Regions from separate parts of the Homo sapiens genome. Here region 1 is linked to region 2. Evidence: promoter capture Hi-C in human tissues and cell types (Jung and others, 2019). All regions are on one chromosome and are shown on one strand. The core of a region is centred on a gene start or on the middle of the fragment in contact, and the rest is flanking DNA. Distances in the headings are between cores, read along the strand shown.

Region 1 (7,016 bases), core at 1,995-4,494, 73 kb after region 2:
CACATTCTAACTCGGGTACAGCAGGATTGTACCCTGGCCTTCAGCTGTTCCTCCAAAGTCTTAATTGCAATGGCATTCTACCCTATGAAATCTTGCCATGTGGTAGTACTACCAATGTAGGTCAGAAACTAAGGACACAGGGTTGGGTACACAGGAAATGAACAATAAATAATTAATGACTAATTAAGTGTTGGCCAAGATGAACCTTCATTTCCCGGCTGGATGAAGTGCTGTGTATCTATTATGAATAGTCAGTAAATTGGGCTGAAGGGGCATAAAAACACAGGATTAAGATATGATACCCGAGCTGGGCGTGGTGGCTCACACCTGTAATCCCAGCACTTTGGGAGGCCAAGGCAGGAGGATCATGAGGTCAGGAGTTCAAGACCAGCCTGGCCAACATAGTGAAACTCCGTCTCTACTAAAAATACAAAAAGTTAGCCGGGCATGGTGGCGGGTACCTGTAATCCCAGCTACTCGGGAGGCTGAGGCAGGAGAATTGTTTGAACTCAGGAGGCAGAGGTTGCAGTGAGCCAAGATCACACCACTGTGCTCCAGCCTGGGCCACAGAGCGAGACTCTGTCTCAAAAAAAAAAAAAAAAGATACGATACCCTGCTAACATAAACCGTTATCTCACAGCATTTTATTATCACCTGTTTACTCAGTCAAAAACTTAAAATGGGCTGGGTGCGGTGGCTTATGCCTATAATCCCAGCACTTTGGGAGGCCGAGGCAGGTGGATCACCTTAGATCAGGAGTTCGAGACCAGCCTGGCCAACATGGTGAAACCCCGTCTCTACTAAAAATACAAAAATGAGCTGGGCATGGTGGCAGGCTCCTGTAATCCCAGCTACTTGGGAGGCTGAGGCAGGAGAATCGCTTGAACCTGCGAGGTGGAGGTTGCAGTGAGCCAAGATCACAGCTATTACACTCCAGCCTAGGTGACAGTGAAAATCCATCTCAAAAAAAAAAAAAAAAAAAAAGCAAACTTATAATGCCATCTTATAATTCTTATAATTTATTTCCCTATTAAAACTTATTTTTACAAGGTTAATTACAGCTTTTTGTTACTTTCTACACTCTGCAAGTATTCGTAACCATGATAAATAAGGATAAGAAAATAAGAAACCATTTGACATAGATGGCTATTTGAGAGTCTCATTTCTGTTTAGTTTAGTTCAACTCTAACCAAAATGATTCAAGTCCTGCTCCAATAGTAGACTTCATCTAGTATATCTGCATTATTTATCACACTAGGAGGAGGAGAAGGGACAGATTTTTATAAAAAGGGATACAAATCAATAAGAGGCTTTAACAGATGGGGTCTTGGTTGAGGGCCCCAGCAGCCTCTTCAGGTCCAGTGCTGAAAATCATTCAGCTGAAAGACCCAGGGACATTTGTTCAGCAAGTCACTTAGGGAATCAGCATCTTGCTAAATGTAACCTACCTGGTCTGAGACAAAATGATGGCTACACATCTGCTCAGAGTAGTCAGCAGTGAGCACACTAAGTTGCAGCCACAGAGCAATATTCAGTATTATTGCTGCAAGTAATGCAATACTACTATCACCATGTATGCCCCCTTCCTGAGCAACTGAATAGAGATAGTTTGGCATTTGGGAAGGCATTTCAAGTTGACCATGAGAAGCAAACACTGTATACACACAGTTCAGATCACTGGAGACGTGGCAGAAAGGGAGGAAGGAGGCACAGTAGCTGTCTGCAATAGTTTAGCATTCATGGTTCACCTATCCCTGGGTCCCTGATATTGTGCAAATCTGCCTTACAAACCCACAGTGTGATGAAGCTTTCTGCCCCAGTCTAAGTACAGAGGGGAGTGGAAGTTGTCTCTGAAGTTAGTTCTGGGACAGCAATATCCCTTGGCACTATTGCAAGTCCTTTTTTTTTTTTTTTTTTTTTGAGACGGAGTCTCGCTCTCTCACCCAGGTTGGACTGCAGTGGCACTACCTCGGCTCACTGCAAGCTCCACCTCCCGGGTTCATGCCATTCTCCTGCCTCAGCCTCCGGAGTAGCTGGAACTACAGGCGCCCACCACGGCGCCTGGCTAATTTTTTTGTATTTTTAGTAGAGACGGGGTTTCACCGTGTTAGCGAGGATGGTCTCGATCTCCTGACCTCGTGATCCGCCCGCCCCGGCCTCCCAAAGTGCTGGGATTACAGTGTGAGCCAGCACGCCTGGCCTATTCCAAGTCTTATAATACACAGTTCAACAGTAGTAGGGCCCAGACAGAAGAAATAACAAAGCTTTAAAATGAAAGCTCAATCCAGAGAACTCAAATAATTAGATTCAATCCATAAAGTGGGGAAATGATCTATGTCTGATGGCTATCAATGAGGTCCAAGATCTTAATTGTGCTTTCCTTCTCAAAATAACCCTCTCATCAGTATATAGATTTATATAATGCAAACACCTAAGGAAAACCATCAGCAACCTACCCCCCACCCCCATCCCAGCTCCCACTCAAAAACAAACAAACAAAACAAACCTGGGAATTTGTAAGAAATATGAAGAAAATACAAATCCTCCAATTATAACTCCTGTCATTCAAATTATTTTCAAAAGGTTGCCACACATAAAGTATGGAAACTATGGTCAGAAGTTGAATCTCTTACCCTTCCCTGTGAAGAACTATTCTTTTTCTGATTTTTAAAATTAAGGAATAACTTTCATACAGCAAAACTTACCCTTTTTAGTGTTGTAATGGTTAATTTTATTATCAACTTGACTGGATTAAGGGATCCCTTAATGGTAAATCATTATTTCTGAGTGTGTTGACAGGGGTATTTCCAGGAGACAGATTAGCATTTGAATCCATACACTGGGTAAAGAAGATCCACCCTCACCAATATAAGCAGCCATCATCTAGTCTGTTGAAAGCCCACCTGAATAGAACAAAAGGCAGAGGAAGGGCAAATTCTCTGTTTCTCTTTTCTTGAGCTGGGACGTCCATCTTCTCTTGCCCTTAGACATCAGACATCAGGAGCTCCTGGTTCTCCAGTTTTTGGACTCTAGGACTTACACTAGTACCACCCAAGTTCTCAGTCCTTCAACCTTTAATTGGAAGCCTACAGCATCAGCTCCCTGATTCTACAGCTTGCAGACAGCATATTGTGAAACAACTTGGCCTCCATAATCATGTGAACTAATTCCCATAGCCTATTTCCTCTTGTATAACTATGTATATTTTATTGGTCTGTTTTCTGAAAAACCCTGATACAAGTATACAGTTCTGCAAGTTTTGAAAAATGCATACATCCAGATAATCACCACCACAGTCAAGATACAGAACAGTTTCATCACCTCAAAAGTTCCCCTGTGCCCATTTGTAATCAACCTCTCCTTCCAACCCCAGCCTCTGAAAACAACTGACCTATACCCTGTCCCTATAGTTTTGCCATTTCCAGAATGTCATATAAATGGAATCATACAGCATGTAACCTTTTGGATCTGGATAGTTTCATACTGCATAATGCAACTGAATTAATCCAGGTTGTTGCATGTATCAGTAGTTCATTCCTTTTTACTGTAGAATAGTATTTCATTATATAGATGTACCATAGTTTATCTGTTCCGCCGTTGAGAGACACTTGGGTTGTCCACAGTTTTGACAGTGTATAAATAAAGCCACTATAAACATTTGTCCAATCCAAGTTTTTATTTCACTTGGGTAAACATTTAGGAGTGGACTGCTGGAAGGTCTACTTTGGAAAATATCTGCCTGACTCTATTTATGCTATTTCTATTTAGCAGATATGCAATTTCCCAAGGGAATAGCTGGGTTATTTTCTGTGATGCTTCTCTTTCTGGTCCATCAATATCATTTCTCTGCCCTCCCGGGTATAGGAAACACCTCCAAATCAGTATGACTTACAAACTTCATTAATACTTTGTTTACTTTCAGCCCTAGTTCATTAATACAAATGCTAAATATGCCTGTTCCTCATCAGCACCCTGCAGCATCCCAGGAAATAACAATCTTTCCCAACCACCCCAGCCCCCACACTGGCATTTAGGTTTACAGTCGTTTTGCAGTTCATTTTGCATCAACAGCTTCTTCTCTGTGTTCTTAATAATCAATTTTCAATTGAGCCAAGAATCTCCAGTATATCATGGGGTTTTTTGTTTGTTTGTTTGTTTGTTTTTTTAGACAGAGTCTTGCTCTGTGGCCCAGGCTGGAGTGCAGTGGTGCAATCTTGGCTCGGCTGACTGCAACCTGCACCTCCCGGCTTCAGGCGATTCTCCTGCTTCAGTCTCCCAAGTAGCTGGGACTACAGGTGTGCACCACCACACCCAGCTGATTTTTGTATTTTTAGTAGAGACGGGGTTTCACCATGTTGGCCAGGCTGGTCTCGAACTCCTGACCTCAAGTGATCCGCTGCCCTCGGCCTCCCAAAGTGCTGGGATTACAGGCGTAAGCCACTGCGCCTGGCCATCCAGTATATTATCTTTAATAACTATAGGAAAACCAAACAGAGCTTTCCCCAACTCATTCATAGTTAGTCTACTTTTTGCCTATCATGGCAAAAAATGTGGCCACTTAGAAAACTGGAAGTGTTAATTCCCTAACATCAGCCTGTAAGCAAGTTTGGACTTTCTTACCCCTAAAACAGATAGTATCCCATCCTAAAAACAGTCTTTCAAATACATGCTGTATTAATTAAACTAGAGAACAGAATAAAATGTCAGCATAATTAACATACGAAGCAACAGTATGGCCTGATTAATCACCATGAAGAGCAATCGAATAAAATACTATGCATTTTTATGGAGCAATTTAATCTGGCAAGTAATTAATCACAGAAACACTAAGCAAAACAAATGGATTTCCCTTTAAGGAAGTCACATTTATCATTTGTAATGTATCCCTAACTCTAATTTGTTATCCCAATTCAAAATTGTCTAGGAGACAATGAATTGACAGGCTTAGTAGAACACTGATTTCTGATGAAAAAGAACATCCAGCTTTTCAAATCAAGTTATAGTCCTGCAGCACTCAAAGAGCTCAGGTTTGTGGGGCACAGGTATGTGGCATTAGGCATGGAAGGCTTAACCTAAATCTAAATCTAGGTCAGTTTAGTCAAATCTATAGATAATTAAATGACTTGTGAAAATATTTAGTATTAAGAGTAACAATTATAGATCACAGATATTACCAAAACCCCAAAGGGAGGACCCTCAGCAGAAGAAAACAGAGCTTTTGGTCTTCAGAACAAGCAAAAAGGGGGAGGGGGCATATCAACGCAGTGAGATTTAACTCAAAGAAATTCCTTTGTTCCCTCCTTCCCTCCCTTTCTTCTCTCCTTCTCTCCGTCCCTTCCTTTCTTTTTGTCTTAAACAATGACCCATTTTCCTTGAGCCCCCAACAGCCTCACCAGTTTGAAGAACACCAACAGGCTGATGTTTTGAATGGTCATTCAAAGGCAGAGTGACACACATTAGCTAAGGCTATCTTCATATCTCCTTCTTCCCAGCTCCCTCTCTGCTTGGCTACATTCGAGACTAGATGAACAGCCCTTTCTTTGCCAACGAAGCTCACAGCACTTTATAAGCCTTTCCCTTAATAGTCCCATCTCTCGCTGACTTTATTTCTCTCTGTGCTGTTCTTAGAGGGCTTTGCTTCTCTTCTTAGCAGACCCCTGTAGGCTGAAGCACATGGCAAAGTTCCAGGCTTCTGGTGGCTGCGGCACAGTGGTTTGTTCTTTACTGACCTGCTTGATCTCCAATGCTGGATCCTACGAAACATTCAATACTTACTAAACTGTACCGGGAGAGTTGTGCTTTTCACACTCCACCTTGTCTCTGCTCACTATTTAAGAAATGCTGTTGCAGATATCCTATTTATCCCAGAGCATTTCTTCTAGATTTTAACCCTTACCTTTTTCCTTCAAACCTTTTACTCTAGTATTTCTGGGCTGTACCACTGGCTTAACGTAGATTCTTATCCTCTGCCTGGCCCTTCAGTCAATTTCTCTTCTGGAGAGTCCGCCTGGCATTTTTGTTCAGTGTTTCTCTGAGCTTCTGTCTCTGAATTGCCCTTGTTGGCTCCCTCCATCAGCCCAATAACTGAAGTACCATTACTCCCAGCTAATCCTAGATCAGGCCCAACCAATATCCTAAATCCTCACTTCTCTAAGAGAAAGGAACTCTATGTTTGTTTATCTATTTTCGAGAAAGAGTCAATGTGTCACTAAGATGAGTGAGACATAGATGCTTCCTGCCTTCAAAGAGCTCACAGCCTAGTCAAGAGGACAACAGATAAGTAGACAGTTGCTGCTGTAGTGTGGCCAGGCCTGGCTCTAAGGATGAAGTGATGCTCAAAATGCACTATTTCAGGAGGTGAGTTGACAAGTTGGGAAAGGACATTCTAGGCAGGGAGGAATGGTATATCCAAAAGGCCTGGACTATAAAACAGTTTGTCCAGAGAATTCTAAGTGTCTCTGGTTTGTCCAGAGAACTCCAGGTGGTCTGGCATAGCTGCAGTGAGGTGACAGATAAGGACAGAGATTCTAGAAATAAGATGAAGAATGGCAATGCAGGCTACCCTACAGAGCTTAAATGTTTTTCTGTGGTGATGAGAGGGGCCAGCGAGGGGACAAGCACAGAGAGAAAAACGAGACAGAAAGAGGCAGGCAAGATGACAGGTGAGATCAGAGACTATGAGAATCCAAGTGAAAAAGAAATATGAACAATAAATAAACTGTGGTACAGTTATGCAATAATAAAATACTGCTCAGCAATAAAAAGGAACTAACTACTAGATACTTGCACAAGCAATGTTCAGAGCAGTATCATTCATAGTAGCCAAAAGGCAGAAGCAACCCAAGGGTCACCAACAGATAACTGGATAAACAAAATGTGGTATATACATACAATGGAACATTATTCAGCCTTGAAAAGGAAGGAAATTCTGACATATGCTACAACATGGATGAACCCTGAGGATATTATGCTAAGCAAAATAAGCCAGTCACAAAAAGATAAATACACTATGATTC
Region 2 (7,126 bases), core at 1,909-4,408:
CTCTAACGCCTTAAAATTCCTGGGAAAGCCTACGGGAGAGATATAGTCCCGCTCTTTCGACTGGGATCCCGCATGATTGGTTGAAAACCCTACATTTAAGTGGTGAGAATGACCTCCTAACTCTGGGCAAATCTTGTCCACTTGACGGCGACTATCCCCACCGCAAAGCAGCTCCGTGCGCATGGCTCCTCGCAGCCACACGGGGGCGCCCCCGCCCCGGCAACAATACTCAGGGCCGGAGGGACTCCACTGAGATCCCAGTCGGGGGACCGAGCTCAGGGCTAGCCAGCCAGGCTCCAACCCTCTCCGCATCTTCTCTTGGCCTTTCTCTCTTCCGCTCAGACAGGGCCGCTGCTAAACGCGGCCTTTCCCCTCGGAACCGCACTGCCCAGCGGCCCCGCCGGGCTGGGAAGACCTGAGGGATTAGACAGGGGTCCGGGCGGGGCTCGGACTGTTTTTTGTTTTGTTTTGTTTTCCTAAAGAGTCTCTCCCAGCTCCCTTTTGAGCTTGGGGTGGGAGTGGGGAAGTAAAATGTTCGGAGGTACCCAGGATGCCCTGAGGTGTAACTTTCCAGCTGCTTCCCTGCAAGCCTGATGGGCCGGGAAGACGGGAGCTGCAGACTACCCTAAATCCGATCCCAGGAATCCCAACTGCAGGGAAGGGGAGGCGAAGCCTGGCGCGCGCTTCAGCACCGCGGACAACGACTCCCCTTCATGCTTCAGCTTAGGCATCTCTCAGCGCTCAGAGCTCAGCGCCGCCCGCCCGCCCGGGAGTCTTCGTTGACACTGGCGTCCCAACCCGATTTGTCTCCCGCTATAAAATAAGCCGCCCTTCGAGAGGAGAGCTCCTGGTAGTCCTATTTCTACTTTCCAAGTCGTGTGTGGAGCTATCTACAGCTAGGCTGCTGTAGACCCGGACCACAATTCTTGATACTTGTCAACATTTGACCTTTCCATTTTCCTTGGGAGGTAGGCAGGCAGGCAGGAAGTAACATTCCCTTTTACAGATGAGAAAGGTGAGGCCAAGAGAACAAAAGTCACATAGCTGGTACACTTCCATTCCTGACTGAACTGGGGCAGGGCATCTCCAAATACAAATGCTTCCCCCACCCAATCTCATTCAAATAGCCAAGTGGGGAAGGGATGGTTTCACTAAGGGTGAGAACCCATTAAAGCTGGAAGCAAACACTGACTAATGTGATACTATTGAAGGCCCCTAGGCCCTTACTACTCTCAAGAATCCTAAGCTGGTGATGGGAACAGAATTCATGGAAGAGCTGGACAGTGGGTCCTTTGGATTCCATCCAGCTCTGAGGCACATCTGGCATGGTCTCTCATCTGGGGCCAGCCTGAGTGGCTCCCCTGATCCTGACTAGGGCCTCCCTAGGGACAGTGATGGGGGATGGGGGAAGACACATGCTCAAGGCACCTCATCCTAGTCCCCTCCCCCTTCCCAGGTCTCAATCTCACTCCCCTCAGGAAGGACAAGGATCATGGCCTCCCTCCACCTCCCCAGCTTTGTTTTGGCCTCAGGGAGACAGCCTCCCTCCTCCCACTCTGCTGGCTTTCTAGAGCAGGCTGCACAATGAGAGACACAAACACATACATGGAAATGTACCCAGGGTGACACAGTCACCTACACAAACACATGGCTCTTCCTACCAAACCCAGGAACATGCACATGCACAGATGTACTGGCCTCACATACCTCCCCATGTGGGAAAGAGAGGATGCCCGGGCAGCCAAGTGGTTTGGTGGACATGCAGGACACCACATGGCACTTCCCAGGCCTAGAGCTTCTAGCTCTGTCTCTGGAGGGGAAGGAAGAGGATGTGTTTTCCTGGGGTTTGAGTGAAGTTCTGAAAGGTTTGTTGGGGGTTGAAGGATTCAGTTGTAAGAATAATCTCAGTACATGATTTGGTGTGGGGAGAGAGGGCTGACCCAGCACTAACTAAAGCCTCCCTACAGGGGCCAGGTGCTGGAGCCATAAGGTCTCTTGGAAACCAGACTGGGCAGCTGAACACTAAAGTCCCTCCTTGGGTCCACCTGGGCTATTTGTGGAAAAATTGGTGAAGGAGTGGGGTGTACTAAAGACCCCTATCTGTACCAGGAAGCCAGAGAGGCAGCAGGGATGAGACACGTCATAGACACTCACAGAGCCCCGCTGCAGACATCACCACATGAAAGTACACAACTAGCACTGAACACTAATCTCACAACCACAAAACACAACACAACCTACTTTAACAAATTCTTGCCCAGAGGGCTTATGGTCATGAAGGCTTACAAAGAGACAAGCCACCCTAAAGTAGAGCCCTGACACATTCTGGTAGTTACACACCACTTCATACAGAATTACACACTCACAACACATCGTTGCACATAGAGACACATGGTCAAAACAACTTCATCAGTACAACCAGGGTCCTACGCAAACTCAAACATCTGACGAGACCATACAATTGCACTGCCACATACAATCACACTCACCCTAGCTGTCACCAAGCCCAGGGCACATGGCAACCAGCTGTGGGAGGTGCGCGCGCACACACACACACACACACAGAATGACAGGTGCTCACGCACGTAACACCTCCCACTCCAGACACCCTCTCAGCCCTGTGTCACATACGCCCACACCTGCTGCCTCTCCACACCTGCCTCTTCTGTTCCTCCCCAACCCCTGCGGGACCCAAGGCTTTGAACCCCCAGTGTCCTGCCGCCCAGACCGGCCATAAGAGTGCCTGGGAATGGGGCAGAGTGTGGGTGCGGGCCAGGCCGGGGTCGGAGAGGCGGAAGGGTCTGGAGGAATGGAATCCACCCTCCCTCCCGCGACCCCCACGTCACTGACTCACCCGTGAGCTGGTCGTAGGAGCCGTCCAGGTCTCGGGAATCGGACAAACTCTCCTTGCGGCCCTGGCCCCGCATGGCCCCCGGCGCCCCGCTCCCGCCCGGGCCGTGGGAGGGGGCGCCGGGTGGCCGGGATAGGGCGCTCACACGGCGCCCCCTGGCGGCCTACTGTGCTGTCGGGGCTGGGGAAGTCCGGGCTGAGGCTGAGTCTGGGAATGGGCCCGGGGTCTGAGGTCTACCCGGAGGTCCTGGAGCAGGAGAGGGAACACTAGGCAGCAGGTGAGCGCAGAGCCGGAGGCAGAGCGGAGCTGAGCGCGGAGCCGAGCCGAGCTGCCTCTCTCCTCCCGCCCCCTCCCCGCGGCTGTCACCGCCTCCTCCCCTCTTTGGCGCTGCCGGGATTGGCTCCCCCTACCCCCGCCCCCCACCCTTTGCAGCCCGGGGGAGGCACCCGGTGAAAGGGTGAACTGCAAAGTGCGGGGAAGGAGACTAGCTCCCCAGCAATCTGCCCCTAAAGCAGAAGTCACGGGGCTTGGCGGGGGGGGGGGGTGGGGGAGGAGGAGAGCGCGGGACAGAAGAGCCCCACTGAGAGGAGGAAACCCCGCCCCCAATTCTCAGGCACCCCGTCCCCCTTCGTCAACACAGTTCTGGCTGAGGCAGAGCCTGGGGTATCATATCTGAGTCCCCGCTCCGTTTGTCTCCATGTCAGCCTGTATTTTCTCTGTTGTTCCTCCTCCCGTGTATGCGTCTCTCGTGGTCCCAGACAGTCCCCACCGTGCTTAAAGCAGGTTAGGGATGCAAAGGAAGAGTCAACCCAGCCTCTAATATTAGCAGGCTCATCGTGGGCCAATGGACTACTGTTTCATCTTCTCTCAAGTTCCAGAAGGACCCCAACTCTCACCCACTCCAGGACCCCGTCTCTGGAACCTATTCACTCTCAGGGTGCCTCCTTCACTGATCTAATGAACCCCATAGGCCGACTAGGAAGATAAAAAAACTAGTGAACCAGGTCAGTTTCTCAAGACATCCTTGCTCTTTTGTTCCTCCCCTGCAGCAACTTTTCTGCCCTTCTCTTTTGTCACCTGTCCTGTCCTAGATTCCTTGTTTTCCAGCAGATATGGGGAGCAACTGACAGGTTTGGGGATCCAAGTCAGGATACAGAGTAGGAAAGAAATGCCCTTGTTATGAAACCCCTTCCTTAAGATTAGCTCCTTTCCAAAGGCAGGGCTAGCACGGAAGCTGGGCTGCCTCATCTCCCAGGAATGGATCCTGAGTGTTTTGAGCGTCACAGGTCTGACCTTCCTCAGGATGCTTCCTGGGCTCCACACCCAAAAGCCCCCCAACCCGTTGCTATGAGGATGAGGGGACCTTGTCTGGTGGGTCCAAAGGAGTGACCTGTTAAGACCAAAAACTTTAAAGTGACTCAAGCACACTTAATCTCTTCAATTGGCTTTAATTTCCAACCACTTGATTTAATCAACCCAGCAGGAATTGTGGCGGGAGTTCAGGCCTAAGAGGGGGACAAGTGGCTGAGGGTAAGATTGTCTTTAGGAGCAATGCCCTGCGCTTGGATCTCCCTTGGCTCTGGAGGAGGCTCCACAGACCTGGTATAGAGGCTGGGCATAGAAAGTGCTTGGGCAGCTCCTGTTAAGGTTGATTTCCAGGAGAGAATGGGCACTCTCGTTTGGAGTTCTGGGATAGGTATATGTGAATAAACTGGTCAAGAGAAGGGCCTTTACAATGGAGGGCAAGGAGCCCTCTGCTTAGTGCCCCATGCCCTAGACCTGTCCTCATTCACTTGGAGGAAAGGCTGGCAGGAATCCGTAAGTGGCCAAATGGGTTGGCTTGCCTCCTCAATACCACTAAGTTTGGAGATAAGGGAACTAACTCTCTTCTCCCTCCTTCTACCCAGAGGACAAGAGAGGTTACAGCTCTCCGAACCCAACTGACCTCTACTAGGGCCAGGAGACTCAGAGGAAGGAGGAGAGTTCACAAGGGCAGGTAGGGGTCCCCTAGCCAGATGGCAGCAGCACCTAGGAGATTACCTTACCTCTATCTTTGAGGAATGAGTCTGGGCAACAGAGATTAAGGAAAAAAAAAGCAACACTAAAGACAGTCCCACACAAATCAATTTTTAATAATTTCAACTTGCCACCAGCTCCAAATCCAGCTGCCTTGGGGATTTATCACCAGGGAAAACACTAAATGCCCCAGGCTGAGCTATCCATCCAGTGATCAGATGACCCAGCCTGTGATCTCTTAAGAACCTACATCTACACATGGCAGCCTGTTAGTGGCTTCTCTGGAACTAGTGCATAGCTGCTCAATGTTAGAGCCAGAACTCTGGTTCCCAGGGAGGGCGAGTATCCCAAAGAGATTTGAGGTTAAATGGATGGCAGTCCAGGTGGTCCCAGACATGCTCTCACTGCTGAATTCCTGCACTTACTCCTAGAATATACCAGTGCTGTTTGCTCCCGCCATCCTGAGGGCTTTAGAAAGTGCTTTAAAAAGGGAGGATCTCGAAGCAGCAGCTATTTCAGAGGCAGCTGTTGGGAAAGCCTATAGTGGTTCCATGGAGGCTATCCAAGGGAGGAACCACAAGCCAACTCCCCATAAGTCAGGAGATTTGCCTGTGGCCCCACCCAGAATCTGAGCGGACAGAATGGAGGCCTTATGCATGATGCTCACCTGGCCTGTTTCAGATGGAGGGCACCCTACCCCCAGAAAGTTCTCTCCCTCCCAGGCACTAGACCATGACAGGAATAGATTCCTCCCCAGAGGAAATTCTCAGGCAGGTTGGATGTAAACAACAGCAGGGTAAGGGGGTGGAACACGTGGAGGGGAGCTCAGCAGAGGCAGGAGAGGCTGCCAGAGGAGGGGGGGCTAAGGGAGGTGGGGGAGCTGCTGGAAAGGGAACCAGCAAAGTAGGCACCTTGAGGGCTCCAGAAAGCCTGTCAATGTTTATTTCATACACACCCTAAAGACAGTAAAGCAGATTAGAAATTAAAAGTTAAGGTGGTGACCCTATTGTGCTGATGAGTCAAATGGGCCAGAAGAAGGGGAAAGCTAACGGTACTCCTGGTGCCAAAACTAAAATTCAAAAGGCGGTGACTGGACAGCAGAGCACTGGGCAGATTCTCATCTCCAGTTTTCCCAGAGAAGTCAATTCTGAATTCAGAAAATAGGAAAACTGGCTGGGTGTGGTGGCTCACGCCTGTAATCCCAGCACTTTGGGAGGCCAAGGTGGGTGGATCATGAACTCAGGATATTGAGACCATCCTGGGTAACATGGTGAAACCCCATCTCTACTAAAAATACAAAAAATTAGCCGGGCGTGGCACACGCTCCTGTAGTCCCAGCTACTCGGGAGGCTGAGGCAGGAGAATCGCTTGAACCCAGGAAGCGGAGGCTGCAGTAAAGCCGAGATCACGCCACTGCATTCCAGCCTGGGCGACAGAGTGAGACTCCGTCTCAGAAAAAAAAGGAAAAAGGTACCCTATTCCTATCTTACCCTAAATCTGAGCCAAAGGTCCCGATGACTGGACAAAGTGCCAGTGCAGGCAGGGGACACAGATTTCAAGCCAAGCACAGCCCCAGGCCCAAAGGAAGCAGGATGTAGCTCCAGCTATATCTGAGAGTTGATCTGTTTTCAGAAGCCGAGCAGAGCCACTGACTTTCAGGGTGCTGGCATTACCCTGAGGCTTGCCTCACCAGCTCCCGAAAATTAGTCAGTAGCTACAGCTTGTAACCTCAAGATTGGAAATGTGAGGGGCTGTTTAGGGAGCCCACTCTGGAAGTCCCCACATTCCTGGAGGCCTCTCCCCACTGTGCCCACCCATTCCTCCCCAAATAAGATTATCCCTGGCTTGACCCTCCTGCCCCTGCTGCCCAAGCTCCATTGAAGTGCGGTCTTCACCAAGAGAACTTGGTATCTGTGTTTCTCTCCAACCTCGGGGGCAGCCCCCTCTCCCCTCGCTCCCCCTCCAGCCCATGATCCTCATGGGTAAGGGCAGTCAGAGGCTGCTCAGGTAGGCGTGGCCTCAGGAGATAGTGGAGAACTCCTTGAGCAGGACTTCTTGGCTGAGTGTGTGGAAGGCCAGGTTTCTCCGGACGTTGGTGCTAATGGATCGAACCTGGGAAAGGGTAGTTGGGGAAGGTGGGAGGGCGCAGCCAGAGAGAAAACAGGAGAGAGTCAGTTCTAAACGGCAGAGGACAGTGCCTGCTACACGGGGCACTAGAAGTCTCTCTCTTAGGAAATGAACCCTTAACAGCTATTATCC

What was found. Contacts are between HindIII fragments. The study calls those that stand out against the background at their distance.
Region 1: a contact is called between a fragment that was not itself captured here and the fragment with the promoter of KCNIP2 in region 2, in 2 of the 25 tissues and cell types used here (spleen and thymus).

The regions. Positions count from the first base shown.
Region 1 is chr10:101,913,902-101,920,917 of GRCh38, forward strand. All of the region lies in intron 23 of ARMH3 (armadillo like helical domain containing 3), which reads right to left. Among named protein-coding and RNA genes, the nearest start is that of KCNIP2, 74 kb to the left of the region's middle. The HindIII fragment of the contact is 5,435 bases long and covers 528-5,962 here.
Region 2 is chr10:101,840,642-101,847,767 of GRCh38, forward strand. It overlaps KCNIP2 (potassium voltage-gated channel interacting protein 2), which reads right to left and starts at 3,159. Exons shown (of 10, transcript NM_173191.3): 1 at 2,855-3,159. The coding sequence starts at 2,927. It overlaps ARMH3 (armadillo like helical domain containing 3), which reads right to left. Exons shown (of 26, transcript NM_024541.3): 26 at 4,958-6,979. The coding sequence ends at 6,887. RefSeq lists an enhancer at 2,671-3,176 and a silencer at 3,132-3,381. The HindIII fragment of the contact is 20,872 bases long and covers 1-7,126 here.